Linked DNA regions of Homo sapiens: regions 2, 3, 4, 5, 6 and 7 are each linked to region 1. Evidence: promoter capture Hi-C in 16 types of primary human blood cells and fetal thymus (Javierre and others, 2016). All regions are on one chromosome and are shown on one strand. Each heading gives the region's core, a stretch centred on a gene start or on the middle of the fragment in contact. The rest is flanking DNA. Distances are from core to core; before and after follow the strand shown. Region 1 holds the start of WDR26 (WD repeat domain 26). Region 2 overlaps MIA3 (MIA SH3 domain ER export factor 3). Region 3 overlaps BROX (BRO1 domain and CAAX motif containing). Region 4 overlaps LINC01703 (long intergenic non-protein coding RNA 1703). Region 5 overlaps H3-3A (H3.3 histone A). Region 6 has its middle 25 kb from the start of SDE2. Region 7 holds the start of MIR6741 (microRNA 6741).

What was found. Contacts are between HindIII fragments. The CHiCAGO score rates a contact against its expected background, and 5 or more counts as called.
Region 2: a fragment that was not itself captured here is called in contact with the fragment with the promoter of WDR26 in region 1 in 1 of 17 cell types (neutrophils); the score reaches 6.5 in neutrophils.
Region 3: a contact is called between a fragment that was not itself captured here and the fragment with the promoter of WDR26 in region 1, in 1 of 17 cell types (neutrophils). The highest score is 5.6, in neutrophils.
Region 4: a contact is called between a fragment that was not itself captured here and the fragment with the promoter of WDR26 in region 1, in 1 of 17 cell types (neutrophils). The highest score is 6.8, in neutrophils.
Region 5: a contact is called between a fragment that was not itself captured here and the fragment with the promoter of WDR26 in region 1, in 1 of 17 cell types (neutrophils). The highest score is 6.7, in neutrophils.
Region 6: a fragment that was not itself captured here is called in contact with the fragment with the promoter of WDR26 in region 1 in 1 of 17 cell types (neutrophils); the score reaches 7.9 in neutrophils.
Region 7: a fragment that was not itself captured here is called in contact with the fragment with the promoter of WDR26 in region 1 in 1 of 17 cell types (neutrophils); the score reaches 6.4 in neutrophils.

Annotation. Positions count from the first base shown.
Region 1 is chr1:224,432,738-224,436,633 of GRCh38, reverse strand. WDR26 (WD repeat domain 26) reads left to right here and starts at 1,837. Exons shown (of 14, transcript NM_001379403.1): 1 at 1,837-2,950. The coding sequence starts at 2,229. It also overlaps a transcript of CNIH3 not described here. RefSeq lists an enhancer at 929-1,118 and a silencer at 1,459-1,858. The HindIII fragment of the contact is 13,558 bases long and covers 1-3,896 here.
Region 2 is chr1:222,644,269-222,648,164 of GRCh38, reverse strand. It overlaps MIA3 (MIA SH3 domain ER export factor 3), which reads right to left. Exons shown (of 28, transcript NM_198551.4): 7 at 2,480-2,611. Among named protein-coding and RNA genes, the nearest start is that of MIA3, 28 kb to the right of the region's middle. RefSeq lists enhancers at 3,429-3,508, 3,109-3,896, 3,579-3,896. The HindIII fragment of the contact is 1,853 bases long and covers 808-2,660 here.
Region 3 is chr1:222,720,438-222,724,333 of GRCh38, reverse strand. BROX (BRO1 domain and CAAX motif containing) reads right to left here. Exons shown (of 13, transcript NM_144695.4): 5 at 1,820-1,915; 6 at 170-242. Among named protein-coding and RNA genes, the nearest start is that of BROX, 9.8 kb to the right of the region's middle. The HindIII fragment of the contact is 6,451 bases long and covers 1-3,896 here.
Region 4 is chr1:226,089,689-226,093,584 of GRCh38, reverse strand. It overlaps LINC01703 (long intergenic non-protein coding RNA 1703), which reads right to left. Exons shown (of 4, transcript NR_146920.1): 4 at 3,296-3,360. Among named protein-coding and RNA genes, the nearest start is that of LINC01703, 8.1 kb to the right of the region's middle. The HindIII fragment of the contact is 3,567 bases long and covers 1-3,428 here.
Region 5 is chr1:226,069,744-226,073,639 of GRCh38, reverse strand. It overlaps H3-3A (H3.3 histone A), which reads right to left. Exons shown (of 4, transcript NM_002107.7): 4 at 1,621-2,289. The coding sequence ends at 2,161. Among named protein-coding and RNA genes, the nearest start is that of H3-3A, 9.0 kb to the right of the region's middle. The HindIII fragment of the contact is 1,018 bases long and covers 1,470-2,487 here.
Region 6 is chr1:226,022,417-226,026,312 of GRCh38, reverse strand. No RefSeq gene overlaps it. Among named protein-coding and RNA genes, the nearest start is that of SDE2, 25 kb to the right of the region's middle. The HindIII fragment of the contact is 8,184 bases long and covers 1-3,896 here.
Region 7 is chr1:225,919,603-225,923,498 of GRCh38, reverse strand. It overlaps PYCR2 (pyrroline-5-carboxylate reductase 2), which reads left to right. Exons shown (of 7, transcript NM_013328.4): 3 at 1,116-1,295; 4 at 1,420-1,641; 5 at 1,855-1,947; 6 at 2,128-2,291; 7 at 2,879-3,621. The coding sequence ends at 3,044. MIR6741 (microRNA 6741) reads left to right here and starts at 1,357; the gene lies at 1,357-1,419. The HindIII fragment of the contact is 1,886 bases long and covers 907-2,792 here.

The DNA of each region.
Region 1 (3,896 bases), core at 588-3,087:
GTTCTGTAAGGGACTTTATAAATTCAGAATTCTAACACGAGCAGTGTTGGTTACCTAAAAATTAGAAAAACTGGAATATAGAGTTTAGATAGCAATGGAATCCAATTTATTTTTCATCATTTTACTTTTGTTAATGAAGTGTGAGCTTTGTCTGTAGCTGCCATGAAGTGACTGATTTCCTTTATAAAACCTACAGTCTTTATTCAGAAGCAAGTCTTCAATGTTGCTATGGGCCTAATAAATTATTATAAACCATTTTGCAAAAATTAAATTTTGCCTAAACAACACTTTTAATAATAAGGTTGTCTAAAGTTAATATACAAACAGGGCTCTCTGAGGGTGTTAACTATCTAGTAATTCAGGCTCTGCTGGATACAGTGACAGAGCTCTATGAACCTCAACTAGAACTCAGGTCGGCCTCAGGTGAATATAAACACTGTATGTGAGTCACCTTGCAATTACAGCTGCCACCTGGAAGCAAATTTAAGCAGTAAGAACTACAAAACCAAATCCCTGTAAGATCCTGCATTGACCTTCCTCTTACTTCTTCCTGTCTGAGGATCCATAAACCTCAGGATTCTTTACTAATTTCTCATCAGCATCATTTTTTATTGTATTTCCAAATTTAAAAACAACTGTCTCCAAAGGCCTCAAAATTACTTTCAGTTATTACTATAATAAATATCAGCGATGTATGATGTATTAATTAGAAACTAAGGTGTTTTTTTTCCCCTCCCCACAGGAAAACTACTTCAGAGAAAGACTTTAAATTTCTGAGAAAATCTTTATACATATTGAGTATAGATGCTATCAACCACATACATGAAAATAATTGTTTGGGGATAATGCACACCATTTGCCAATGATTAAGATTCAGCCCAGTCTTTGTTGCTGCATTTCTACATTCACATAAATTGGTAAGTCATGATGACACAGAAGGCTCACATGCCACGTAAAAATTTCAAGCCTGGATCTGAATGGGTGCCTGAATCCTTCTCAGAATGCATATTTTGGAGGCAACTGTTTGGTTTATGTTACTGCTCCCTAAACTGGGCAGTGACTCAAGAGGCAGCTGGAAGAGAGAAGGAGGTGCTGGGCAAGTGCTAAAAAAGAGTGAAGCCTCAACAGCAGAGTCCCTCCCCTTCTCTACACACCACACAGCCTTTTTGTGACTTCTTGTCCCCATAAGATATGCTCCTCTAGACTAACTCCCCTTCCCAGGGTGGAGCAGAGTCTCACCGGCTCATTATCTCACAGCTCCCGGGATGGCCCCGGGTACAGCAACTGTGTGGCACTTGGCTGTGGAAATTCAAGTTTTTCCACCCTAAAACAAGTAGGTTGTGAAACCCGATTTCGGTCCTGGTTACCATTGAGAGGGGCCTACCACAGCCCTGTGCCTGGAAGTTCCTGCCTGTCGAAGCTCCTAGCCCCCTGCCCCATCCTCACCTTCTGCACCTGATGGAGAAGGTGCAGTCCCTCCGCGCACCTTACATGCCCATGCCACACTGGTGGACTCACGCACGCACGCCAACTCTGCCATCCCATGCACGCCCGGCTTCGGAGGGCGGCTACGAACTTACTGCTCGTCGAGCCAGCCGAGCCAGGGCGCAAGGGGAAAGGCCCGAGCGGGGCCGGGGATAGGATCGGATAGGAGTCGGGGTCGTGGATGGGGTCGGGGCGGACCCCGCCGGCCCGCTGGCCTCCCTCCCCTGACCCCCGGGACAGCCCCCGATGCACGTGCTGGGTGACAGGCCCCCTATAGGTTCCATACCTGCCACCGGAAGTGAGTGAGGAGGGCAGTATAGGCATTTCCTGTGACGCGAGCGCCTGGACTCCATTAGGCAGCAGCTGGGGGAAGAATCAACACACCAGGGAGCAGAGCGGAGCGGATCCGAGGACAGAGGCGGCAGCTGCCTCCGCTGCCGCCCGCCGCCGCCGCCGCCGCAGCCACTGCCGGGGCTCAGCCCAGCGGCGGGCCCCGCGCCCCCGCAGCCGCCCCGCGGCGCCCCCCGGCGCGACCCCCGGGCCGCGCACCCCGAGCTGCCTCCGGGAGGGGGGGGGGAAAGGGCCCGGATCCTCCTTCTCCCCCTCCTCCTCCTCCCCCTCCTCTCACCCTCACCCTCACCCTCCTACCCTGACCCCCTCCCCGCCTCCCCGGCCCCCCTCACCCCGACCCTCTCCCCGGCCCCCGCCTCCCCTCCCCCGCCTCGCCCCACCGGCTTCCCACCACGGCCTCTCTCGGCGAGGAAACTCTGGCCTCCGCTTCCTCCTCCTCCGACTCGGACACCGGCGGAGCCTCCCCGCCCCCGCGGAAGAAACCCCGAGCCTCGGCGGCGGAGGGAGTAGGAGAGCCCGGGGCTTCGGCAGGCAGAGCAGGCCTCTCCCCTCCGTCCTCGTCGTCCTCGTCCTCCTCCTCCTCCTCCTCCTCCGTGGTGGTAGTGGTGGGACTTCCCCCGGCTGCTGCCCCTCCCGCCGCCGCTGCTGTCCCCCACCGAAGTAGCGGCCACAGCCTGGTCAGCGGCAGCATCATGCAGGCCAATGGGGCAGGAGGAGGAGGAGGAGGTGGCGGCGGCGGCGGTGGAGGAGGAGGGGGCGGCGGGGGCCAGGGACAGACCCCGGAACTCGCCTGCTTGTCGGCCCAGAACGGGGAGTCGTCCCCCTCGTCGTCGTCGTCCGCGGGGGACCTGGCCCACGCCAATGGGCTCCTGCCTTCCGCCCCCTCCGCCGCCAGCAACAATAGCAACAGCCTGAATGTCAATAACGGGGTTCCCGGCGGGGCGGCCGCCGCATCCTCAGCCACCGTCGCAGCTGCCTCCGCCACCACCGCCGCCTCCTCTTCCTTGGCCACCCCAGAACTGGGCAGCAGCCTCAAGAAGAAGAAGCGGCTCTCCCAGTCAGATGAGGATGTCATTAGGCTAATAGGACAGCACTTGAATGGCTTAGGGCTCAAGTAAGTATCCCTTACCGCCAGCTGGTGATGGACAGACCGAGGGACGGAGGCTCCAGGGGGGTAGGGGAAGGGGCGGAGGGGGGAGGGGGGCTTGAAAGAGCTCGGTCAAAGAGAATGAGTGCTGGGCACGCAGGACCCAGTACACAGGAGGACGCGGCTCAGGGCGACCGGGGAGGAGGAGCGGACCTGAAAGGAAATAGGGGAAAATCAATCAGTCTGACAAATTGTGAGACGAGACAGGCGTTGAGGGGTTAGGAAGGGTTAGGAGAAACCCAAAGAATGACTTCTCCCCACGCACCTTCAGAGCTTAATTGTCTGTCAATAAAGACAGATGCGGGAGTGTGTTTCTGTATGTGTTGGGGGAGGGGTGGATTAGAGCTGGTGGAAATAATGAACCTTGGAGGATTTGTTTTTCAAGTGTATCTTGGAGGCATCTTTGTGGGACACCTCCCCACCCCCAACCGTGGCAGACAACAACCCAAGCAAACTACCAATCAGGAAAGACAATCACCTACAAGTGTTTATGGGAACGGAGGGGCTGGGATCATTTGGAAAGAGGTTGTTGAATAAATCTGATGCGAATAATGAAGATACAGTGTTGATGTCGTTTAAAGGCCCTTGTGTGTGTGTACAAGAGGCCTAACCCTAACTAGTCTGAAATCTCAGTTTAATACCAAGAAGATGATCGCCTCTGAAAAGGGGACATCTGATCTGGTGAACCATTTGTTTTCAAATACAATTTAGGTGGCCTTGTATACCTAACATAGGGTGAAGGTAGACAGCGACCTTGGACAAAAACCACCGTTTTGTATACACACAAAGAAAAACTAAGGGGGTGGAAGGTAGGATTGGTGGGAGTGCCTGATGAAGGAGGTGCAAGAGACGGAGTCAGAATGAAATGAAGGGGGGAGGACGTGCAGCAGCAGTCAGTTTCCTACATTCAGAG
Region 2 (3,896 bases), core at 485-2,984, 1.8 Mb after region 1:
ATCATCTTCCTGAAAGGGCACCCAAATCATCCCCCAAAGACAGCACTAAATTATAGGACAAGAAAATCTAAGCAGTAACTAATATTGTAAAAAGAATATTACTAAATTTCTTTGCAACCCAGAACATATTTTCCCTTTCAAATGTTATGTTGATGAGATACTAACACCAGTCCACAAATCATCCATAAGCTCAGTAAATATACTGTTTACATAATATACTGTATTACTGTATACAATAATTAATATACTGTATACATAATAATTCCAGTATCTAAATCTCACTTATAATACCATTGTTATAGGAATATGCATTCAGAAAATTCCAACATGGAAAGAAATTACTATCTCTCTAATGTCATGGCCTTGCTAATTCCTCTGCTCCATTTCACCCAAACTAACAGGCAAGCAGAGACCAAGGTTCCAAAAGTCAAGTGCTGAGGCTGAGGAACAGCAGTTAGGACACAGAGCCTATATAACTTTCTGAAAAACGAAAAAGGCGTTAGAATTTTTTTATTAACAAATAGGAGAAACAAGAGTGGGAAATGTAAAATGTTTTCAACTTTTCCCCTTCCATTTACCCTTTGATTCTCCCTTTTTATCTGAAGAAAAGCACCAGGAGGTTAGAGAAGGCCTCACAGGAAAAAAGACCCTTCTTTTTAAGTAATTTTACAATCAATTGTGAGAGAAAATTTATTAATGATGATATATGTGATATAATTATGAAATCAGAAAAAGAGTACTCAGTTTTAGAAAGATTTGCATCCAATAATTTTGGCCATTTTAACTGTGAAGTTTCAATACAAAGCTTTTCATCTGCAAAGCTCATTTACACAAATAATCTTCTCCCAATTATGTTAAATAACTATGCAGCTGAATGCTATATAGTATAATCATAAGGATGTACAAGTATGAGTATACACACTTATACAAACATGTTTAAGTCTGAAAGGCAAATTCTGCACAGAAGATAAAAAAATTAACGGTGTGTCTTTACACATGATATAATTTGCATTTCGAAATAAAAAGATATTTTCTGAGTAAAATAGTACATGATGAAATCAGAAAATCTGGAAAATACACATTTTTTAAAAACTGAAAACTTACCTCATCTCCTAGATATAAGAATTTTTATCATTTTATTGTATTTCCTTGCAGCATTTATTTTCTGTGTGTATGTTTATGTAATATACAGTTTATCTATACCTTAAAGTCTTGGTTTCTACTTTTTTTCTACTTCATGTTAAATTGTGAGTATTTGTTGTGCTCCTATGTCTTTGAATTATATAAAGCAGCCTAATATCCCATTATATGAACATACAATAATTTAACAATTTTCCCACTGTGAATCACAGTAGGTTGTGTCAAAGTTTTCACTCTAATAAATACTGTTCTACTGAATGCTCTCATGTAAGATATTTAAAACTTTTTTTTGAGACAGAGTCTCACTTTGTCGCCTAGGCTGGAGTGCAGTGGCATGATCTGCTTCCCCAGTTCAAGCGATTCTCCTGCCTCAGCCTCCCAAGTAGCTGGGATTACAGGCTCCTGCCACCACCCCCGGCTAAGTTTTGTATTTTTAGTAGAGATGGGGTTTTGTCTTGTTGGTCAGGCTGGTCTCAAACTCCTGGCCTTATGTGATCCACCCGCCTCCGCCTCCCAAAGTGCTGGTATTACAGGTGTGAGCCACCACGCCCGGCCATGTAAGATATTTAATGCATGATTGGTTATTTCTTTCTTTCTTTTTTTTTTTTTTTGAGATGGAGTCTCACTCTGTCACCCAGGCTGGAGTGCAGTGGCACATCTCAGCTCACTGCAGCCTCCGCCTCCCAGGTTCAAGCGATTCTCTGCCTCAGCATCCCGAGTAGCTGGGATTACAGGCATGTGCCACAACACCTGGCTAATTTTCGTATTTTTAGAAGAGATGGGGTTTCATCATGTTGGCTAAGCTGGTCTCGAACTCCTGGCCTCAAGTGATCCGCCTGCCTCGGACTCTCAAAGTGCTGGGATTACAGGTGTGAGCCACTGTGCCGGCTGACTGGTTATTTCTTTAGGATCGATTACTAGACATGACATTAATACAATATAAAAGGATATAACCATTTTTAAGGCTTATCATACACATCATGAAACTATTTTTCAGGATGGCTCTAAGAATTCCTAGTTCTACTAACAGTGTACATATGACCTATCTAATTCTTTCTTTTCATCCTTTGTGAGTTGAAATACAGACCCACCTAATTCTTAAAATTTAGACTTTGATATGAGACATATAAACTGAAGTTTTCCCACTGAGATTATACATGTTGTCTTATTCACTTAAGAATTTACCAACACAAAAATTATACTAAATTATTTTACAAGGTTAGCTTGAATTAAAAGCATTAATTTCTGTTCATATTAGAAACTGAAAAAGAAACAAAAGGACTGTGATTATAAAACCATACTTGAATTTATGAGTTAAAGTATGCATTAATTTACTCACAACAAGGACAGTTCTCCATAAGAAAATGGCAAACGAAGCAATTCCCAAGAAGGCAGTGATAAATACAGGTTTCCATGGCAGTCCATAAAAATCAGGCCCAGGCTGAACATCATCAGGCAATGTAGCAACTAGCTGAATGTTAGAAATAATGTTAGAAATAATGAGAAACCTTAAAGAAGCTTACCATAAAGCAGTCACAAAGACTCATTCACAGAAATTCTAAACCAACTCTATCAGATACCTATCCCCTCAAAAATCTTCAGTAGCTCTCACTGCTTTAAGAAAAACAGGATACTGGGAGTCTCATACTTATTGTTTGGCCTGTGGTGTTTTGAAGTACTATGACTCTAAATGTCTTTAGGTTGGGCATATATTTCTAGTTTCAATAGGCCCTGATACAATATGTTATCTAAAACATGGCTGGAATCTCTCTGCATCATACTTTTGTCTTGAATAAATTGGTTTTTATTGCTTAAAAAACCACATAAGACAAAAAACCTTTTATATACAAGTAACTAACTTTTTATGGCTGCAAATAAAACCAATATGATGATAATGAATATCACAAATAACGTTTTATTCCTCTAAGATTTAAAATCTTAAATCGACTTACATAAACAAAGAACAAATGCTGACTAAGTTCGGATAGCTCCTGATAACTGATCTAGATAAACCGCTTTGAATTTAGTGCCTTAATTCTAAATGTTTCCTTGAAAACAGTGCATTAAACACCTGTCTGCTCTATGCTGTTTCCACAGCCCTTTACAAGTACACTATCACACTGGTCCCATCCCACAACAGAGCCGGGGGTTATGCAGAAAAGACCTGTAGGTTCTCTGTGTTTTGATCATGACTTCACACCAGAACATAAAGTGCTGTCACTTCGTAAGTACTCAATAAAAAAAAAAAAAAGAGTGACGAAACCTTCTCAAACACACTCCCACCTGCCTCCCTAAACAGCATAGAAACGTCTTGCTTTCCTCGGATCTGACACACTCCATTTCTCCTTTGCACAGACAATCAGTGCACCCACTCTGCTTAGAACTCATCCACCCGCCTGTGACAGCTTGGGTCCCTCCCCGGGAATCGGGACTGTCACCTCCAGCAGCTTGGCTATGAAGGCTGCGTAGAGCACAGACAAGGGTCCCACAAGTTCCGGGTCCCCCGGGGTAGCGGCGATAGAAGGCACAGTGGCAGGTACTGAGTCCATTGTGTAGAACAGCTGAACGCAAGCGACAATTCCCTGCGGAATGGCACTGGGCCCCCTGTTTTTCAGAGCTTCCTCCTCCGGAAAGGCCCCAATTCAGGGGGCGGACTCTGGGATTGAACTTCGCCTTCCACAGCTGCCTGCACTTTCGCTTTATGCCGCCTATAAAACACGTCATCAGCCACTGCCCCTGGCGCACCTCAAGGCACC
Region 3 (3,896 bases), core at 1,022-3,521, 1.7 Mb after region 1:
TAGTAACTGGCTGCACTCATCAATAACATACTTAACATAAGGAAAACAGAACACATAGTACCTTTTTTAATATAATGAAACAATTCTTTCCCCATATCCTCCCAAAAGAAAAATTATTCAAGAATTAAAGCATTAAGAACAAATAATGGTTTTTGTTTGTTTGTTTTACCTTTAAATGTTTAAAAATCCCAGCTGCAATCTTTAGGCTTCGATGAACTTCTTTTGCTTCATCTTCTGTTATACTTAAAGATAGGGGTTACATTAGTTAGAGGATGAATTCCATTTCTGGTATTAAAACACAACAACCAATACATTATTATACATCCAAAGTAGTCATTTATGTTTCTCACTGCTAATTTTCTTCCTTTTAAAAATAAATCTAATTTTGAGGCCAGGCCTGTAATCCTAGCACTTTGGGAGGCCGAGACGGGCAGGTTGCTTGAGGCCAGAAGTTTGAGACCATCCTGGCCAGCAGGGCAAAACCCTAATTAGCTGGGTATGGTGGCAGGCACCTGTAATCCCAGCTACTCGGGAGGCTGAGGCACGAAAATCACTTGAACCCAGGAGGTGGCAGTTGCAGCGAGCCGAGATCATGCCACTGCACTCCAGCCTGGCCTGGCGACAGAGCGGCACTCCATCCCCCCGCCACCAAAAAAATTTAATTTTGACACCTAGAAAAGGAGCAAATGCATATGAAATGTACGTTTATAGGAAATTAGTAAAAACTGTAAAGGATTTTGAATGCTAAGCCAATCAGTATCCCACAAAAAGGTCTTGAAAACAAGTATATGACATAAAGGTAACATTAAGATGGCAAAAGCATGTCAATATGTCTCCAAAAAGAAGATACTACAAATGAAAAAAAAGAGACCCTAACTAGGTGTAAAATCTGCAGCCAGGCATGGTGGATCATGCCTGTAATCCCAGTACTTTGGGAAGCCAAGGCAGGAGAATCACCTGAAGCCAGGAGTTCAAGACCAGCCCAGGAAACATAGTGAGAACTCAACTTTACAAAAAACAAAACAAAATAAAATCCAGACAAAGCCTTATTTTTCCTTACAGACATTTGTATATAAACAAGACAAAATATTACACACTTAATGCATATACATGCTTAAGAAACACATAGATACACAATGGTAGCTATAATCATTACTCTGCTCTTATTTTAATCACCTAATTTACTTTAGAGATAATTTTACATCAGCACATACAATTTGACATCATTTTCAAGTGGTTGCATATTATTCCCACGTATGGATGAACCATAAATTGACAGTTTCCTATTGCTGTATCCACTATAGCTATTATAAAAATTGTATCACCTTTTATAATTATTTAATCCTGCAAAACATCTTTTCACATACTGCTAGCCTTCTGTACTTGTTTTCTGTGAATTGCCTGTTCATGTCCTTTGCTTTTCAATTGATTTGACGGTCTTTCCTTTGCTGATTTATAAGAGTATACGTTATAAAAACAAACAATTTATCATATGAATTGCAATGTTTTTGACCAATCTTGTCATTTGTTTTTTAACTTTGTTTACGGTCCTTTGATGTAGTTAAATAGTCATGCTTTTACTTTATGGGTTCTTGATTTGGGGTCTTACTTAGCAAGACCTTCCATATGACAAGACTATTAAAATTTATTTTACCTCTTAACGCTAGGTGCCATAATTCTGACACTCAAAATACTAACATTACAAGGCAATCCTTCAAACATCCAAAGTGGTACTTTTTAAAATAGATTTTTAAAATAATGAAGCGCCACATACTTGAAAAATAACACAGATGTACACAATCCTCTCCTATTAACTTACTTTTCTTTTCCAGCCAGTCTTGAAGCATATTTGGTATACCATAAAGCTACATTAAATCCCATGGAAATTAATTCAAAAACAGCATCCTGCTGGGCACTGGAATTATAAACATGATCATTAAGTTCTGTCAATTATCCAGACATCACACCATGAAGCCTACTGGATATCCGACTCAAAATTACAAAGAAGTATATGCTAACTGGTATGTATGAGGAAAATGGTTGTGTTTAATATAGATGGGGAGATAAGATGTACAGGTAATTAACTACAAATGGCTAAGTATAATGGTCCAGAAGGTACTATGTACTTAATAATAAGCATGGGAATAGGAGCTCCCAAAGTTTACTGCACATAGAGCAGCTTTTAAAATACAGATTTCTGGGCCTTAATCCCAGAGTCGGAAAGCCTGGGATGGGGCTTAGAATCGTATTTTTAACAAGTACTCAGTCGATTCTCAAAGGTGTGGCTCTTATACAACATTTTAGAAAAATCAAATTCAGAGGAGAGATTGTTTCAGGCTAGAATAATTAAGAAGGTTTAATGGTATATATAAAATCTGAACTGTCCCTGGAAAGATGACTAGAAGGGAAGCAAAAGGACATCCCAGGTGAGGAAACAATGCCATCAAAGCCCAAGAGGAGTATAAAAAATTTTCTGGTAGAAGTGACCCAATGAGCTTGACTGGAGCAGAAGGTATGTAAAAAAGAAATCAAGGAAAAGAAGGGCAAAAAGCAAGCTGAAGGCAAACTGTATAAGATTCTGAATGCCTAGCCAATCAGTATTCCAGAAAAAGGTCCTGAACACAAGTATATTTTATACCTTGTTTCCTTCAGATTCTATTATGAAGTATGAAATAAAGATGGCAAAAGCATATCAAGCAAATAAGATATTCATAACAATATATATTCACTATTGTTCTTAGAAGAACCTGAAAATTTTTTACACATGATCTCATTTATCTCAACTGATGAAGAAAGCAGAATATCCTTATTTTACACACGTAATACTAAGAAACAGAAAAGCTACCCAAAAAGAAGAAACCAGAATTATCATTCTACTTTTTATTTTTTAGTTACTTGTTGCCCCTGTCTTAAGATAAATGGAGATATGGCAACTTTTTAAATGAAAAAAAAAAAAAAAAGTGTTATAAAATATGTAGTAATTAAAAAATAATTTCTAAACTGTCTTTAGTATAGATTATAACATCCAAAAATGACAGTTATGAACAAACTTCTCAAAACAGTTTTATCCTCCTGAAAAAAATTTAATACATAGTTTAATAGCTTATTATTTTCTGCACTGAAACTATCAAATGAATTACATCTGGAGATCTAGTGGACATGTCTAATTTATAACTTTTAAATAATATAACAGTTTGGCTAATTTAGTGAAGTCTCATGAGTAACTCTTTTCCTTTATAATCCTTCATTTAACATGCCTTGTTTCCAAACACTCCATTTCTATGACACCACATAAAAGTAGTAGTCATAGTAACTATAATGGAAAAAATATTTTTCAGAACAGATAAACTCACAACACGATTTCCACTGAGTAAGCAGCAATCAAGAATAAAGTAACTTAGAAGTCTCACTTGTGCTGAATATTTAGTATTAAAGTCTTCATCACATAATTCTTCACTATCTCATAAAACTGCTGAAAAAAGGTTAAATAGTAGCTCACTTTTAAATTTTTTTATTTTTTTGAGATGGACTCTCGGTGTGTCGCCCAGGCTGGAGTGCAGTGGCTTCATCTCAGCTCACTGCAACCTTGGCTTCCTGGGTTCAAGCGATTCTCCTGTCTCAGCCTCCCAAGTAGCTGGGATTATAGGTACCTTCCACCACACGTAGCTAATTTTTGTATTTTTTAGTAGAGACAGTGTTTTACCACGTTGGCCAGGCTGGTCTCAAACTCCTGAACTCAAGTGATCTGCCTGCCTCGGTCTCCCAAAGTGTTGGGATTACAGGCGTGAGCCACTGTGCCCGGCTTTAGCTCACTATTACACAGAATCAAAATGTTGCATGGTCGGAAAAATGCCAAATTTATGAAATGCACACATTATAGAATCTGTCAAAATAAT
Region 4 (3,896 bases), core at 396-2,895, 1.7 Mb before region 1:
AGAGAAGACTCTCAGGGAGTCGTGCTGAGGGAACAAAACTGGTGATCCAGGAAGTGAAATCAGCTTCATTTCTTTATGATTCTGCGGCCTTTTCCTGACCCCAGGACAGATCTGGGAAGCGGTAGGTCAATAGGCTCCTAGTTTGTGTGTGTGATGGTGGTGGTGGGTGGAGGATGAACTGAAGGGCGAGGTTTCCCAGCCTTCTGAAATCCCCTACCTCTGCTCCCTGTAGACAGAGGCGCTCTCTTCTGCTGTCTCCTTGTAAGATCCTGACAGCTTAACTGACTAATAATTTCTAGAAGCAGGGCTTCTTCTTGATACCCTCCACAGAGGTCCTGGTGCAGGATGTAAAAGGAAAGAAAACTCACCCGTTCAGGAGACCAGGAAAGGGAAGTTTTATGGATTTAGGAATCTAAGCCAGAGCAGCTCTGAAGTGAGTCACGATTTCTTAAGCACACACCATATTAAGCAGCTCATCTAGGCATTGTACATCTATTTTTAATACCACTATTGATGTATATCTTACATATTGTATAACTTACTCATTTCAAGTGTACAATTCAGTGAATTGTTAGTAAATTTACCAAGTTGTGTAACCCTCACCATAAATCCATTTTAGAACATTTCCATGACTCCAATAAAAGACTGCAGTCCCATTTACTGTTAATCCCCATTCTCCCCCTTCTCCAGGCAACCTTTAATCTAGTTTCTTTTTTGCAGAGATGGGGTCTCACTATGTTGCCCAGGCTGGTCTTGAACTCCTGGCCTCAAGCAATCCTCCCACCTCACCCTCCCAAAGTCCTGAGATTAGAGGTGTGAGCTGCAGTGCCCAGCTCCATAATCTATTTTCTGTCTCTAAATTTGTCTTTTCTGGACATTTCATAAAATGGAATCATAACAGGCCAGGCACGGTGGCTCACACCTGTATTCCTAGCACTTTGGGAGCCCGAGGTGGGTGGGTCACTTGAGGTCAGGAGTTCCAGACCAGCCTGGGCAACATGTTGAAACCCCATCTCTACTAAAAATACAAAAAAATTAGCCAGGCATGGTGGCGCGTGCTTGTAATCCCAGCTACTCAGGAGTCTGAGGTAGGAGAATCACTTGAACCCGGGAGGCAGAGGTTGCACTGAGCTGAGATTGTACCACTGCACTCCAGCCTGGGTGACAGAGCAAGACTCTGTCACAAAAAAAGAAAAAAAAACCCACTAAATAAAATAAATAAATAAATACATGGAAGCATACAGTATGCATTGTTTTGGGTCTGGCTTCTCTCTCCACGTAGCATTTGCAAGACTTATCCATGGCATAGCATGTATCAGTAGTTTGTTCTTTATCATTGCTCAGTAGTATTTCATTGTGTGGATGTACCACATTCTCTCTATCCATTCGCCAGTTGATGGACAGTTAGGTTGTTTCCTTTTTTTTTTTGAGACAGGATCTCATTCTATTGCCCAGGCTGGAGTGCAGTGATGTGATCATGGCTCAACGCAGCCTCAACCTCCGGGACTCACGTGATCCTCCTGCCTTAGCCTCCTAAGTAGCTGGGACTACAGGCATGTGCCACCATGCCTGGCTGACTTTTTTATATTTTTTGTAGAGATGGTGGTTTTCCCATGTTGCTCAGGCTGGTCTTGAACTCCTGGGCTCAAGGGATCTGCCCACTTTGGCCTTCCAAAGTGCTGGGATTACAGACATGAGCCACTGTGCCCAGCCTTGTTTCCAATTTTTGGCTATTATGAATAATGTTACTAAGAACATTTGTGTGTAGATAGGCTAAATCCTCACAACAATCCTGTCAGGTGGGCATTGTCATCCTCACTTTAAAGACGAGGACACCAAGGAACATAGAGATTAAGTAACTCACCCAAGGGCACACAGCTGCAATATTTCATCAGGCCTAGGAAGCACATTTTTCCCATATTTTCATGCTTCTGAAACTGGGATGCATCTCATAATCAGTGGCTTGTCATAGCTTACTTACAGCATTTTCCCCTTTCCTCATGGTACATAAAATGATGGTATGTTTTACAATCAAGGGCATCTTGATGAGATATGGCATTAAGTGGCTGGCCTTAGAGGTCTCCCTTACAGTTCACTCTTGTGTTAGGCCTGTTGGTTGTAAGTGACAGAAATCCCACTCAAAGGGAAATTTACTGGCTTGGTAATGGGAGAGGATCCTCGGACTAGGTCTTTGGGTTGGAGGAAGAGCTGCAGGGACCCTGAAAGGGGACTCCACACAGTTAAGTCTCTGTCCGTCTTTTGTTGCTGCTCATCTTTGCCAGCAGGCTCTGTTCCTCCATGAGGCAACCCCCGCTTAATAGTCCAAGGAGTGAAGTAATCCGAAAAACCTCTCTTCCTACCTCTGTGCATCAATTCTAAGGGAGAATTCTGAATGGTCCTGCTGGGATCACATGCCCATCTCTGGCCCGTCACTGTGGCCTGGGGAACGAGTCCCTCAAGGATCCAGCCCTGGAGGACATGCCCTTCCTTGTGGGTAGAAGATCTGTTGCCAGGCCGGGCATGGTGGCTCATGCCTTTAATCCCAGCACTTTGGGAGGCTGAGGTGGGCAGATCACCTGAGCTCAGGAGTTTGAGACCAGCCTGGCCAACACGGTAAAACCCTGTCTCTACTAAAAATACGAACATTAGTCTGGCGTGGTGGCGGGCACCTGTAGTTCTAGCTACCCAGGAAGCTGAAGCAGGAAAATCGCTTTAACCCAGGAGGCAGAGGTTGCAGTGAGCTGAGATCGTGCCACTGCACTCCAGCGTGGATGACAGAGCGAGACTCCATCTCAAAAAAAAAAAAAAAAGAAAGAAAGAAAAAACAAGAAAAGAAAAGAAAATCTGTTGCCAGAGGAGGGTAAGTAAGTGAGTTGCATGGCCAGCATCATTGAGCCTTCGGGCCACTATCACATGGTGTCACTCATTGTCATGTGATTATAGATATTACTGACTAAGGGGGTCTTTAGAAAGAATATCTGAAGTTTTTGATTTGTTTATTCTGTTGTGAGGTAATATTCTAAAGAGGTTAATTATACCTCTAAAAACTGTGTTGTTTGAAAATTAGCTGGGTGTGGTGGTGGACTCCTGTAATCCCAGCCACTTAGGAGGCTGAGGCAGGAGAATCGCTTGAACCTGGGAGGTGGAGGATGCAGTGAGCTGAGATCGTGCCACTGTACTCCAGCCTAGGCAACAGAGTGAGACTCTGTCTCAAAAAAAATAATAAATAAATAAATAAATAAATAAATAAATAAATGTGTTGTTTGAAGGACTTAATAAAGCAATAAAATATTCATGTAATATTCTAGATTTAATTATATTTAAACTTCTCATCAAGTAAAGATTTGTTTGCAGACAGTTCTGTAATAAAAACATGAAAAATCTTTTAGGAAACTAAACCTGTGAATTTGCCATGTTGAATTTAAGCTTCTAAGTATCGGTTTATATTTAACTCTGGCTTTAAACTGTGTGATATCACTTCTGCATCTCCCAAAAGATCTGGCACCTTTCTACCTCCACCCTGTTGCTCAAGTTCCCTTTGTTTGAATTGCCCTCCCCATGTCCATCTATCCAAATTCTACCTTCAATTTAATGTCACTGTCTGCAGGGGTCTTCCCTACTAGCTCTATCTGAAGGCAGTTTCTCCGTCTTTGAATTCCCACAGCCCCCTCATTAGGACTAGACACTCATCCGAGAAGAGCCTATAGCAGTATAATTTCCTGACCATTTGTTGGGTTTTTCCTTCCTATGTCTTCGTTTTCCCATTTTTGGAAAATAGGCTCTTCTGTGCCTTTGCCTCAGGAAAGGTTAAGTCATTGGGCTTCAGACACTTAAATCCAATATAATTCAGATAGAGATTAAGCTGCTATAACACAGACCCCAAAATGCAGTCATGC
Region 5 (3,896 bases), core at 729-3,228, 1.6 Mb before region 1:
ATAATTTTCTGGGGTTTTTCATCCGTTAACTTAGACTTTAGTGAACTTTTCTGGAATCTTAGAAGGTGTTTGTTGGCTATTTACTTTGCTATTGAAAAGCTGAAACAAAGTGGTAATTCTAGCTAGTCTCCATACATTTTGGGCCGAATTCCAATTCACTCTAGGTTTTTTTTCTGGGTGGGACTGCCATATAGCAACTCTGAAGCATCATAGGAAAGAGGATTATGAGCCTAACAGTTACCGAGCATTAACCCAGGGATTAAAGAGCTGGCAGATCCACTTACACCTGAGTCAAAGGATAGCCCTGAGCTCAAAACTACTATGCATATTTGTCAGGTCCTGGTAAACTAGGAATATATAAGAATACATGCCCAATATTAACATAGCATTGTATGAGACAATTCAATAAATTGACCAGACATTTGTGTACATACGTTGAGTGCCAAGTTTATCTTTGTGCTTTTTTCTATCTGGCTCATTTTATAATGTACAACTTACTGTATTATACCTGGACAGTGAGCACATAGTACTAAATATTTGTTTAAACATTGAAATTATGTTTAAAAAAAGAATTGTTAACAACCACTTCATGGGGCAATAAAAAATGTACTTTTAGAGCATTAAAACTTTTCGAGATTTTAGGATTCCAAGAACTCAAAGGACTGTATTGTCTACTTGTAAATAACTGGTCTTTATCAGATTCCAGCAGGTAACATTAACTTCCTCCCTTACTGGAGACACCTTTTTCTTCTGAAGTGTTTCATGAAAAGGCCATTTGGTCTTTTGCACTGAAAAACTGGATTGAACAGAGAACATTCAACTACAATTGGCTTTTAGTAACTTATATTGAGAAAGTTCCAAGTGTTACCCGTACTTCCCTGTAGAAGTACATGCAAAAGATCATACTGAAAACTAGGATGCATGCTAACAAAATCAGCCTCTTAAAGTAATTAATTCTCCCATTAAAGAATTTTATAGTCACCTATAGTCAAAAGATTAAGTTATGGCTAAATGTTTAAGAGCAGTAAGAATGCAAGCCCAGTGTCGTATCTTACTGACATGCGTCTATTCTTGGCATAGTTATTAACATTTCGTATCACTTCTAGGGCAGTTTCAAACACTCAAACGTTACAACTAATGGGATGTGTTAAAAGTCTTAGAAGGTTTAATTATCCTCATTTCACATTAATTGTACCAACACTAAATAAAACAGGGCTAAGAATTAACTATTAGTGCTTGAATAAATTCAGGGTTAACTAATAGAGCATCTTAAAATAGCCAGATCTTGAATGCATTAATTTTTGAGCTAAAGACTGTTACACACTCTCATTTGTTATTAAACATTCATGAAAGTTCAATCTACTTACAGATTCCACTATTTCCAGGTGATCCTGTTGATTAGCTTTTCGAATTATTGGTTCAGAAGACAACACATCCAAAGAGTTAAGACCACTGGGTAGTGGCAAGCTTCTAAAAATTAGAAATAAAGCCAAGTTCCTTTTGCCACCAAGTCTATACTTTCCTTCTCTCTCAATAAGTCTCACGTCTCAGATATAAAGTGACTATTAAAGGACTTAATACTGAAATTATTTGGAATATAATTGTAGGGCAAGGCTATAATAAAGACCAAAAGCAGGTATAGTTTAATGTATTTTAATAGCAAACTTACAGGAACAGCACAGAAGACAGACAACATTAAAAACATGTACTTGCATGTAGGACAACTCAGTTAGAAAAGTATAGTGAATGGATGGAATCTACTGTATGATAAAAATGCTACAAACACCATTTAGTTGCCATCAATAAGAAATTTACTTGTTTTAAAAAAATCCAAATGCTGGCATTGTCCAGAAAAATTTAACAGGTTTATTTATAATTATTATAAAGTTGAACCGCTGAAACTTGTTCACTGAAACATTTTAACTTGCATTAATGCTTTACGTCTCCGCATTTATATTAAAAATTCACACACAAATGAAAATGGAAAAACTGCCAATACCTGATTTCTGTCCCCTATTTTTCCACTCGCAATCATATACTTAGGTACCTTTTGACCCCATGGAAAAAAAATATCTAACGTTCAGAACTACCAATAACAGGAAGAAGAGAAATTTTTTTTTTTTTTTTTGAGAATGAAATGTTTCCCATCATAGTGGATTCTTAAGCACGTTCTCCACGTATGCGGCGTGCTAGCTGGATGTCTTTTGGCATAATTGTTACACGTTTGGCATGGATAGCACACAGGTTGGTGTCTTCAAAAAGGCCAACCAGATAGGCCTCACTTGCCTCCTGCAAAAGGAATGAAGAAAAAATTACTGATGATGTTATTTCCAATAGTTAAGACCCAACTATACGAATTAAAACAAAAAGGTTTTTGAACCCTTTAAAAAAATGACTGGGCAAGATGCTGACAATTTTACCAAATGCTTACATTTTACAACCTGTGGGACAAAGCTCAAAAGCAGCTTATGAAAAAAAACAAAAGCTTAAGTCAGTAAATCTTTTATCAAGTTACACAAATCAAATTACTTTGTTACTAGGAAACTTCAATTTTTCTAATGGTAACATGATTTCTAATAAACTGAAATGTCACAAATAAAGCAAGAAATCCAATTTAACACTCTCATTCTTATAAACGCAATCATGTCCAATCCAAATACCCCATCCCAGCCTAGTCTCCTCCTCACTCTGAATCCCATTCACACAGTATGTGAACCTCTGCCTTGTCCAGTAGTATAACATGGTGAACAAGTGGTTTTTATCACATGCTTCTCATCTATGTTCCCTTTCATACCTGTTTTATCATAAGAGTACTTTTGATTCCAGAACATATCACAAGTTAGTTCCGTATTTCTTTCTTTCTTTCTGAGATGGAGTCTTACTCTGTCGCCCAGGCTGGAGTGCAGTAGCGCGATCTCGGCTCACTGCAACCTCCACCTCCCGGATTCAAGCGATTCTCCTGCCTCAGCCTCCCGAGTAGCTGGGACTACAGGTATGCGCCACCATGCCTGGCTACTTTTTTGTATTTTTAGTAGAGAAGGGGTTTCACCATGTTGGTCAGGCTGGTCTCGAACTCCTGACCTCGTGATCCACCCACCTTGGCCTCCCAAAGTGCTGGGATTATAGGCGTGAGCCACCGCGCCCGGCAGTTCCTTATTTATTTATTTTGAGACGGAGTCTCTCTTTGTTGCCCAGGCTGGAGTGCAGTGGCAAGATCTCAGCTCACTGCAAGCTCCACCTCCCAGGTTCATGTCATTCTCCTGCCTCAGCCTCCCGAGTAGCTCGGGCTACAGGCGCCCACCACCACGCCTGACTAATTTTCAGTAGAGATGGGGCTTCATTGTGTTAGCTAGGATGGTCTCGATCTCCTGACCTCGTGATCCTCCTGCCTCGGCCTCCCAAAGTGCTGGGATTACAGGAGTGAGCCACCGCAACTGGCCTGGCAGTTCCTTATTTATATACTTTGATCTATGCCCCGGAAACATGCCCCTGTCCTCTACCAAGTACCTTCCTCTACGTACCCCAATTTGTAACAGCATTTGTTGCCCTCTAGTACTAGTATCGATTTCTCTGGTTTTTCCCATTTGACTGTAAGATCCTTTCAAGTTATCTTATTCCTACTACCACTTAAAAATGACAGTGTATGAATCACTCATTGACACTTAACTTGTGAAGAGGAAAAAGGGGCGTTTCCACTTAGAATTAACTCATAACTCAAATTCTTAGTATACTTATAGCTGTCTGAAAAGCTGAAGAATCTTTTAGTCTAAGCCAAAACATCTGCTTACTCTTTTTGTTTTTGTTTTTTGAGGTTTGAGTCTTGCTCTGTAGCCCTGGCTGGAGTGCAGTGGTATAACCTCGGCTCACTGCAACCTCCACCTCCCGAGCTCAGGCAA
Region 6 (3,896 bases), core at 843-3,342, 1.6 Mb before region 1:
CAGCCTGGGTGACAGAGTGAGACTCTATCTCTAAAAATAAATAAGCAGGGCCAGGCGCAGTGGCTCACGCCTGTAATCCTAGCACTCTGGGAGGCAGAGGTGGGCAGATCACTTGAGGTCAGGAGTTGGAGACCAGCATGGCCAACATCATGAAACCCCCGCCTGGGCGCGGTAGCTCACGCCTGTAATCCCAGCACTTTGGGAGGCCAAGGCGGGCGGATCACGAGGTCAGGAGATCGAGACCATCCTGACTAACACGGTGAAACCCTGTCTCTACTAAAAATACAAAAAAATTAGCCGGGCGTGGTGGCAGGTGCCTGTAGTCCCAGCTACTCGGGAGGCTGAGGCAGGAGAATGGCGTGAACCCGGGAGGTGGAGCTTGCAGTGAGCCGAGATCACGCCACTGCACTCCAGTCTAGGCGACAGAGAGAGACTCCGTCTAAAAAAAAAAGAAGAAAAAAAAAGAAAGAAACCTCCTCTCTGCTAAAAATACAAAAATTAGCTGCGCATGGTGGTGGGCACTAGTAACCGCAGCTACTCCAAAGGCTGAGGAGGCAGGAGACCGGAAGGCGGAGGTTGCAGTGAGCCGAGATTGCGCCACTACAGCCCGGGAGAAAGAGTGAGACTCCGTCTCGAAAAATAAATAAATAAACAAACAAACAAATAAGTGATGCAGCTGTGAAGTGGCCTAGGGAGAAGTAGGGAGGAAACAGGCAAAAGAAGAGATGGTAGGAATAAGAGACAGAGAGAGACAGACCTCCTCCCTGCCACCCCCAGAAAGGTTAAGAAAGAAAATTAAAAAAAAAAAAAAAAAAAAGCCAGGCACAGTGGCTCACACCTGTAATCCCAGCACTTTGAGAGGCCGAGGTAGGCGGATCACTTGAAGTCAGGAGTTCGAAACCAGCCTGGCCAACATAGTGAAACTCTGTCTCTACTAAAAATACAAAAACTTGGCTGTGTGTGGTGGCGGGCACCTGTAATCCCAGCTACTTGGGAGGCTGAGGCAGGAGAATTGCTTGAACCTGGGAGGCGGAGGTTGCAGTGAGTGGAGATAGCACCACTGCACTCCAGCCTGGGCGACAGAGTGACACTCCTTCTCAAAAAAATAAAAAATAAAATAAAATCAATCAATTAAAATCCGTAGTCTTTGCACCACATTTTAAGTGGTAGTACAGTTCAATTTTGCCCTAAATTTACTATTTGTATTTTGTTATATCTTCTAAATCAAAGTATAATTGCAAGAGTATAAAGTACACATACACTATGTGCATGTCTTGAGCATATACTAATAAAATTATTTACTTTTTTTTTTTTTTTGAGACGGAGTCTTGCTCAGTCGCCCAGGCTGGAGTGCAATGGCGGGATCTCGGCTCACTGCAAGCTCCGCCTCCCGGGTTCACGCCATTCTCCTGCCTTAGTCTCCTGAGTAGCTGGGACTACGGGCGTCCGCCACCACGCCTGGCTAATTTTTTTGCATTTTTAGTAGAGACGGGGTTTCACCGTGTTAGCAAGGATGGTCTCGATCTCCTGACTCGTGATCCGCCCGTCTCGGCCTCACAAAGTGCTGGGATTACAGGCGTGAGCCACTGAGCCCGGCCAAAATTATTTACTTTATAAATATCAAAGTTTATCATTGTAGAAATGACAGGTCATATATAACAGTATTTATCTATCTATCCAAGTCAGAAAAAATTACTTGCTGAAAGAATTAAGTTTAAAAAACCATTTCCTACTACCTAAACATTTGGTCAGCTAGCTTATGATTTCATTTGTCTGTTTTTATCCTGTTGTTTTTGCATCATGTAAGTACATTCTTAATGGCTTTTTAAACAAACTAAATGAGTAAATGTGGATAAAAGGCTTAAGAGTGCTATATAAATGTGTACATTATTATTATTTCTGACTCTGGAAATTAACAGAGCTAAGAATATTTTTAAGGTGCTGAGAACATTTTACTATATTTTTACTTATTTTTTTTTTTTGAGATGGAGTCTTGCTCTGTCACCCAGGCCGGAGTGCAGTGGCACGATCTCTGCTTTCTGGGTTCAAGCAATTCTCCTGCCTCAGTGTCCCGAGTAGCTGGGATTACAGGCGCCCGTCACCACACCCAGCTAATTTTTTTGTATGTTTAGTAGAGACGGGGTTTCGTCATGTTGGACAGGCTGGTCTCGAACTCCTGACCTCAAGGCCTGCCTTGGCCTCCCAAAGTGGTAGGATTACAGGCGTGAGCCACCGTGCCCAGCCCCATTTTACCACATTTTCTATACCCATTTTGGGATAATAACAGAACAGGTATTTCCAAGGCAATGTCAGGAAACACCACACATTTCCCTAACACTTTTTGCTGACTACACAGAGAATGGGGCAGATAACTATTGACATGTGGCAGGGAGATGTACTTACAACTACGATTTATCTGATTAATTACATTTTCTGACAACTAGCATGACGACGTCACAGTATCCAAAATGGAAACTCATGTTACAGATAATATCCAATCCATAGATAATAAAGAAGGACACCCCCTCCCCCATCCAGATACTTCTAAACTTGTTTATGTCTAAAAGGATTTTTTTTTTTTTTTTTTTTTTTTTTTAGACAGAGTCTCACTCTGTCGCCCAGCCTGGAGTGCAATGGTGCGATCTCCACTCACTGCAACCTCCACCTCCTGGGCTCTATTGATTCTCCTGTCTCAGCCTCCCAGATAACTGAGATTACAGGCACCGGCCACCATGCCTGGCTAATTTTTGTATTTTTAGTAGAGACGGGGTTTCAGCATGTTGGCCAGGCTGGTCTCGAACTCCTGACCTCAAGTGATCCACCCGCCTTGGCCTCCCAAAGTGCGGGATTACAGGCATGAGCCACCATGTCCAGCCAGGAATATTCTTTTTAAAAGACATTTTACAAAGAAAAAAAATCTCTAAAGTTTTTTCCATCTTAGTATTCTCTAATTTTATTAAGTGTGTATCACAGAAAATAGCCAAGTACAATAGAATTAAATAGGCTGCACTTTAATGATCAGAGATATTTGATTATAGTTTGGGTATTAGGTGAAAATAGGAAGTATTGTTCATCCTGTTAGGTGTGAAATTGACATTATGGTCAAACAAGAACATATGCACATTTTTAAGAGACACATACTGAAATATATATGGGTGAATTGAAATTTTAAAAAATTTTATTTATTTATTTATTAACCATGGGGTCTCGCTATGTTGACTAGCCTCCCAAAGTGCTAGGGTTGCAGGCATGAGCCATCATGCCTGGGCAATTGAAATAATTTCTAGGATTAAAACAAAAAATCACAGAGAGAGAAAGTGATAACGTGGCAACATCTTGATAATTGTTAAATCTGATGATGGGTATATGAAGGTTTATTGTTCTGTCTACTTTTGTGTAGGTTTAAAATGTTTATATAAAAAGGGTTTGTTTATTTTATTTTAAAATTTAATCTATGTGTTTATTTATTTTGAGACCAGGTTATGAGACTGGCTAATTTTTGTATTTTGGGTAGAGGTGTGGTTTTGCTGTGTTACCTAAGCTGGTCTTGAACTCCTTGGCTCAAGTGATCCAACCACCTCAGCCTCTCAAAGTGGTGGGATTACAGGCGTGAATCACCACCCCCGGCCAACAAAAAAAGTTTTAAAAATGATTCAAATAATTGGTTTAACAGTTTTGTTTTTTCATATGTAGAACATAAATTGGATAGAGAGAATTCTGCTACACTGTTTATCTGCTAAAAGGATTATTTATCTAGTTCACTAGTTCTCAAACTTGAGTGTGCTGTTTAAAACTCAGATCGCTGAGTCCAGCCCCAGAGTTTCTGATAATAAGTCTTGCAGGGGCCCAGCAATTTGCATTTCCAACAAGTTCCTAGTTGATGCTGATGCTCCAGT
Region 7 (3,896 bases), core at 600-3,099, 1.5 Mb before region 1:
CAGATCCAGACACTGGAGTGGTAGAGGATTAACTGAGGTGATTATGTGATGAAAGCACCTGGCACATAGTAGGTACCTAATAAATACTCATTTTTTAAATTTTTTTTCAGACAGGGTCTTACTCTGTCGCCCAAGCTGGAGTGCAGTGGCGCGATCTCAGCTCACTGTAACCTCCGCCTCCCACCTCAGCCTCCCACCTCAGCCTCCCGAGTAGCTGGAATTACAGGCATCCACCACGCGCAGCTAATTTTTGTATTTTTGGTAGAGAATACTGTTGGCCAGGCTGGTCTCGAACTCCTGGCCTCAAGTGATCTGCCCGCCTTGGCCTCCCAAAGTGCTGGGATTACAGGGGTGAGCCACTGCGCTCAGCCATTTTTCTTAATAGACGAGTTGTATGACCTTAAAGTACTCAGCCACTTTGAGGCTATTTCCTCATTTACAACAGTGGCCACTTTGCTGTTATTCTGAGTCGTGAATGAGCATATTGGGAAGAATCTGGTGAGTTAGTTGTTCTGTTCTCCAAAAACATATTCCAAGTCTTCACCCAAAACCTGTGCTCTGTGGGAGAGGATGGCTGATGAGGCAGGTGACAGGCAGTGTCTGTGCCTAGGGTGGGCTGATGTCCCTAGCACTGGAGGGTCCTGCTTCTCAGTTTGGAGTCATAGAGGGATGGATGGCTTCCAGCCTAGCCCTGGACCACATGGAGACTGTGCGGTCCCCACGAACAAGCGGCCAGGGTTAGGATAGGGCCTGACTCAGCTGTGCTTTTAACGACCAGGTATTAGCATTTCCCTTTGCCCTGCCACTTTCACCATAGGGCCTTCTTACCTGGCAGAGGAGTGCCTTAGATACCAGAAGATTGGCAGGGAAGAAGGGCAGCCACTTCCTGGTTACCATGGAGAAGCTTGTCATGCTCCAAGCCTGTGCTTACTTGTCCAGTAGCAACAATGGGAAACTGTATTATTTGGGGTAGGGGTAGAACCCTGAGGGCATAAAGCTAAGAATTCCAGGCTGCATCTGGCAGAATCGGTTTGGCAGGGGTTCAGCTGCTCCCTGGGAGGCCTTGGCATAGCCAGGCTGCTCCAGCACTGTGAGCTGGGAGTCTCCTCTTGCAGAAGATGGGTGTGAACCTGACACGCAGCAACAAGGAGACGGTGAAGCACAGCGACGTCCTGTTTCTGGCTGTGAAGCCACATATCATCCCCTTCATCCTGGATGAGATTGGGGCCGACGTGCAAGCCAGACACATCGTGGTCTCCTGTGCGGCTGGTGTCACCATCAGCTCTGTGGAGAAGGTGCCCATCTCAGCCCTGATGCCCCTTGTGTGAGGGGAGGGTTGACCCACGAATGGCAGCTAATGGGTGGGTGCTGGTGGGAGCCGTGCCCTGGCCACTCATTCGGCTCTCTCCCTCACCCTAGAAGCTGATGGCATTCCAGCCAGCCCCCAAAGTGATTCGCTGCATGACCAACACACCTGTGGTAGTGCAGGAAGGCGCTACAGTGTACGCCACGGGCACCCATGCCCTGGTGGAGGATGGGCAGCTCCTGGAGCAGCTCATGAGCAGCGTGGGCTTCTGCACTGAGGTGGAAGAGGACCTCATCGATGCCGTCACGGGGCTCAGTGGCAGCGGGCCTGCCTATGTGAGGCCCTCATTTGCTCGCTCAGCCTTCTAGGAACCCAGGCAGCAAGATGGGCTGGCAGGCAGGCTTGGACTGGGGGTGGCGCCCACCTCTTGGGCACAGCTGGCTGGTACAGGATGCTGACCCTTGGAGCTAGTTCTAGTCATCAGAAAGCAGACCTAAGGAAAGGCCCTTCAGTGCCTATGGCCTGGGGCTTAGTGAGTGTCTCCACAGGCATTCATGGCTCTGGACGCATTGGCTGATGGTGGGGTGAAGATGGGTTTGCCACGGCGCCTGGCAATCCAACTCGGGGCCCAGGCTTTGCTGGTCAGTATCTTTCCCCCGCATGTTCAGGACCAGGGTGTAGAATGGGGGTTCTTGTGCATCACTGAACTGAGGTGGGAGTTGGTTGGGAAGCTGGGGTAGCAGTTGGGCAGGAGCAGTGGGTATGGGAAGCCTGTTCCAACGCACACCAGCAACTTTCTCCTAATGTGCCCTTCCCCATAGGGAGCTGCCAAGATGCTGCTGGACTCGGAGCAGCATCCATGCCAGCTTAAGGACAATGTCTGCTCCCCTGGGGGAGCCACCATCCACGCCCTGCACTTTCTAGAGAGTGGGGGCTTCCGCTCTCTGCTCATCAATGCAGTTGAGGCCTCCTGTATCCGAACACGGTGAGTCCATCCCGCGGACTTCTGTCCCAGACCCTTCAGTCCTGGTTGGTCCCTGGGCTGGGTTGAGCACCATTTGCGGAACCTGCTGTCTTGGGTCCCATTTAGCAGTGTTGGAGTCTGTGCTCTGTTAATAACCACAACTTAGTAGATTTTGTTTACCTAAGAGTTTGCAAGCCTTACTTCACTTAATTCTCACTGCATTTCAGATAACCAGGATTAACTTTGACTTGTAGATGGGAAGTTGAGGCTCAGAGATAATTTTCCCAAGGTCAAACAGTTAAAAAGTGATGGAGACAGGATTCTAATTTGAATCTATGACTCCAAAGCCTGTCACTCTTCCCGTGTGATCACAGATACCACTTGGGGCTCTGATCAAATGAGATAAATAAGCAAACCCTAACTTAGGTAACTAATACTTCTTAGAAGTACTAGTTGGGAAGTACTAGTTGGGAAGCGTTTGTCTTGGGGCTCTAATTTTTGGTGGTGTCACATCAACAAGCTTGAGGGTTGTGTGGATAGTGGAGACTCAAAGCTCTGGCCCCAGGGTTTATTGCCTTCCTTTAATCCTTCTGGGGTTTTGTCTGCAGAGAGCTACAGTCCATGGCCGACCAAGAAAAGATCTCCCCAGCTGCCCTTAAGAAGACCCTCTTAGACAGAGTGAAGCTGGAATCCCCCACAGTCTCCACACTGACCCCCTCCAGCCCAGGGAAGCTCCTCACAAGAAGCCTGGCCCTGGGAGGCAAGAAGGACTAAGGCAGCATCTGTCCCCTCTGTGATTCAGAGCCCTTAGTTGAGAGCCCCTGCCGCCCCTGCCACCCCCCTGCCCCGCTCCCACCATTGCCCCTCCTCAGCTGTGCAAGGAGAAAGCATGCTTAGGAAGTTTTCAGGTCCTTGTGATAAAACCTCCTTAAATCTGTTCAGACCAAGCAATGCGAGCTTCCTCTCCTGTCCCATGTTGGAAGTTGCTCTGAAGGGGTGGTAGATGCTGGAAGCCAGACACAACCCTGCGTACGCTGCTCAGTTGGTGGAGACTGGGGCTGGGACTGGAGTCAGCCCAGCTGGGAGGAGGGGCTGGGGAGGATCTGCAGCTGAAGCCCGAGGCAGGGTTGGTGTGATGCCAAGGCAAAGTGGTGAGGAGAAAACAGGAAACGGGCTTTCTCTGAATTGGTAAATGGGAAAGAAGTGAGCAACTTAAGATTGTCACAATTAATCACAAGTGTACAGGATTAGACTGGGTTTATATTTAACTCTTGCTTCATAGGTGTACCATTTAAAGAGTGTTATTTAATGCTAAGTTTAACTGCTTTAATAAAGTTTATTTTTAAATATCTTGCTTTTGTTAGGCTTAATCTTAAATAATCATCCTGGAGAACTTGATGCCCTTGTGAGGTCCTCCCTGCTTCTCTGCGAGAGCACTGTCCAAGGGCTAGAAGTAGGGATGAGAGGAATAAGGGGCCAGGCCCTTGGTCTGGATCAAGGTGTTGTTCTAGAATGAGCCAAAGCTAATGGCAGGGAAGAGCCAAGTGGGCTGCATGGGTTGTGGGTCAGCAGCCCAGAATAAAGGGGAAAGCCGTCTGCTTTGATGTGGGGCAGGCACTGTGCTGA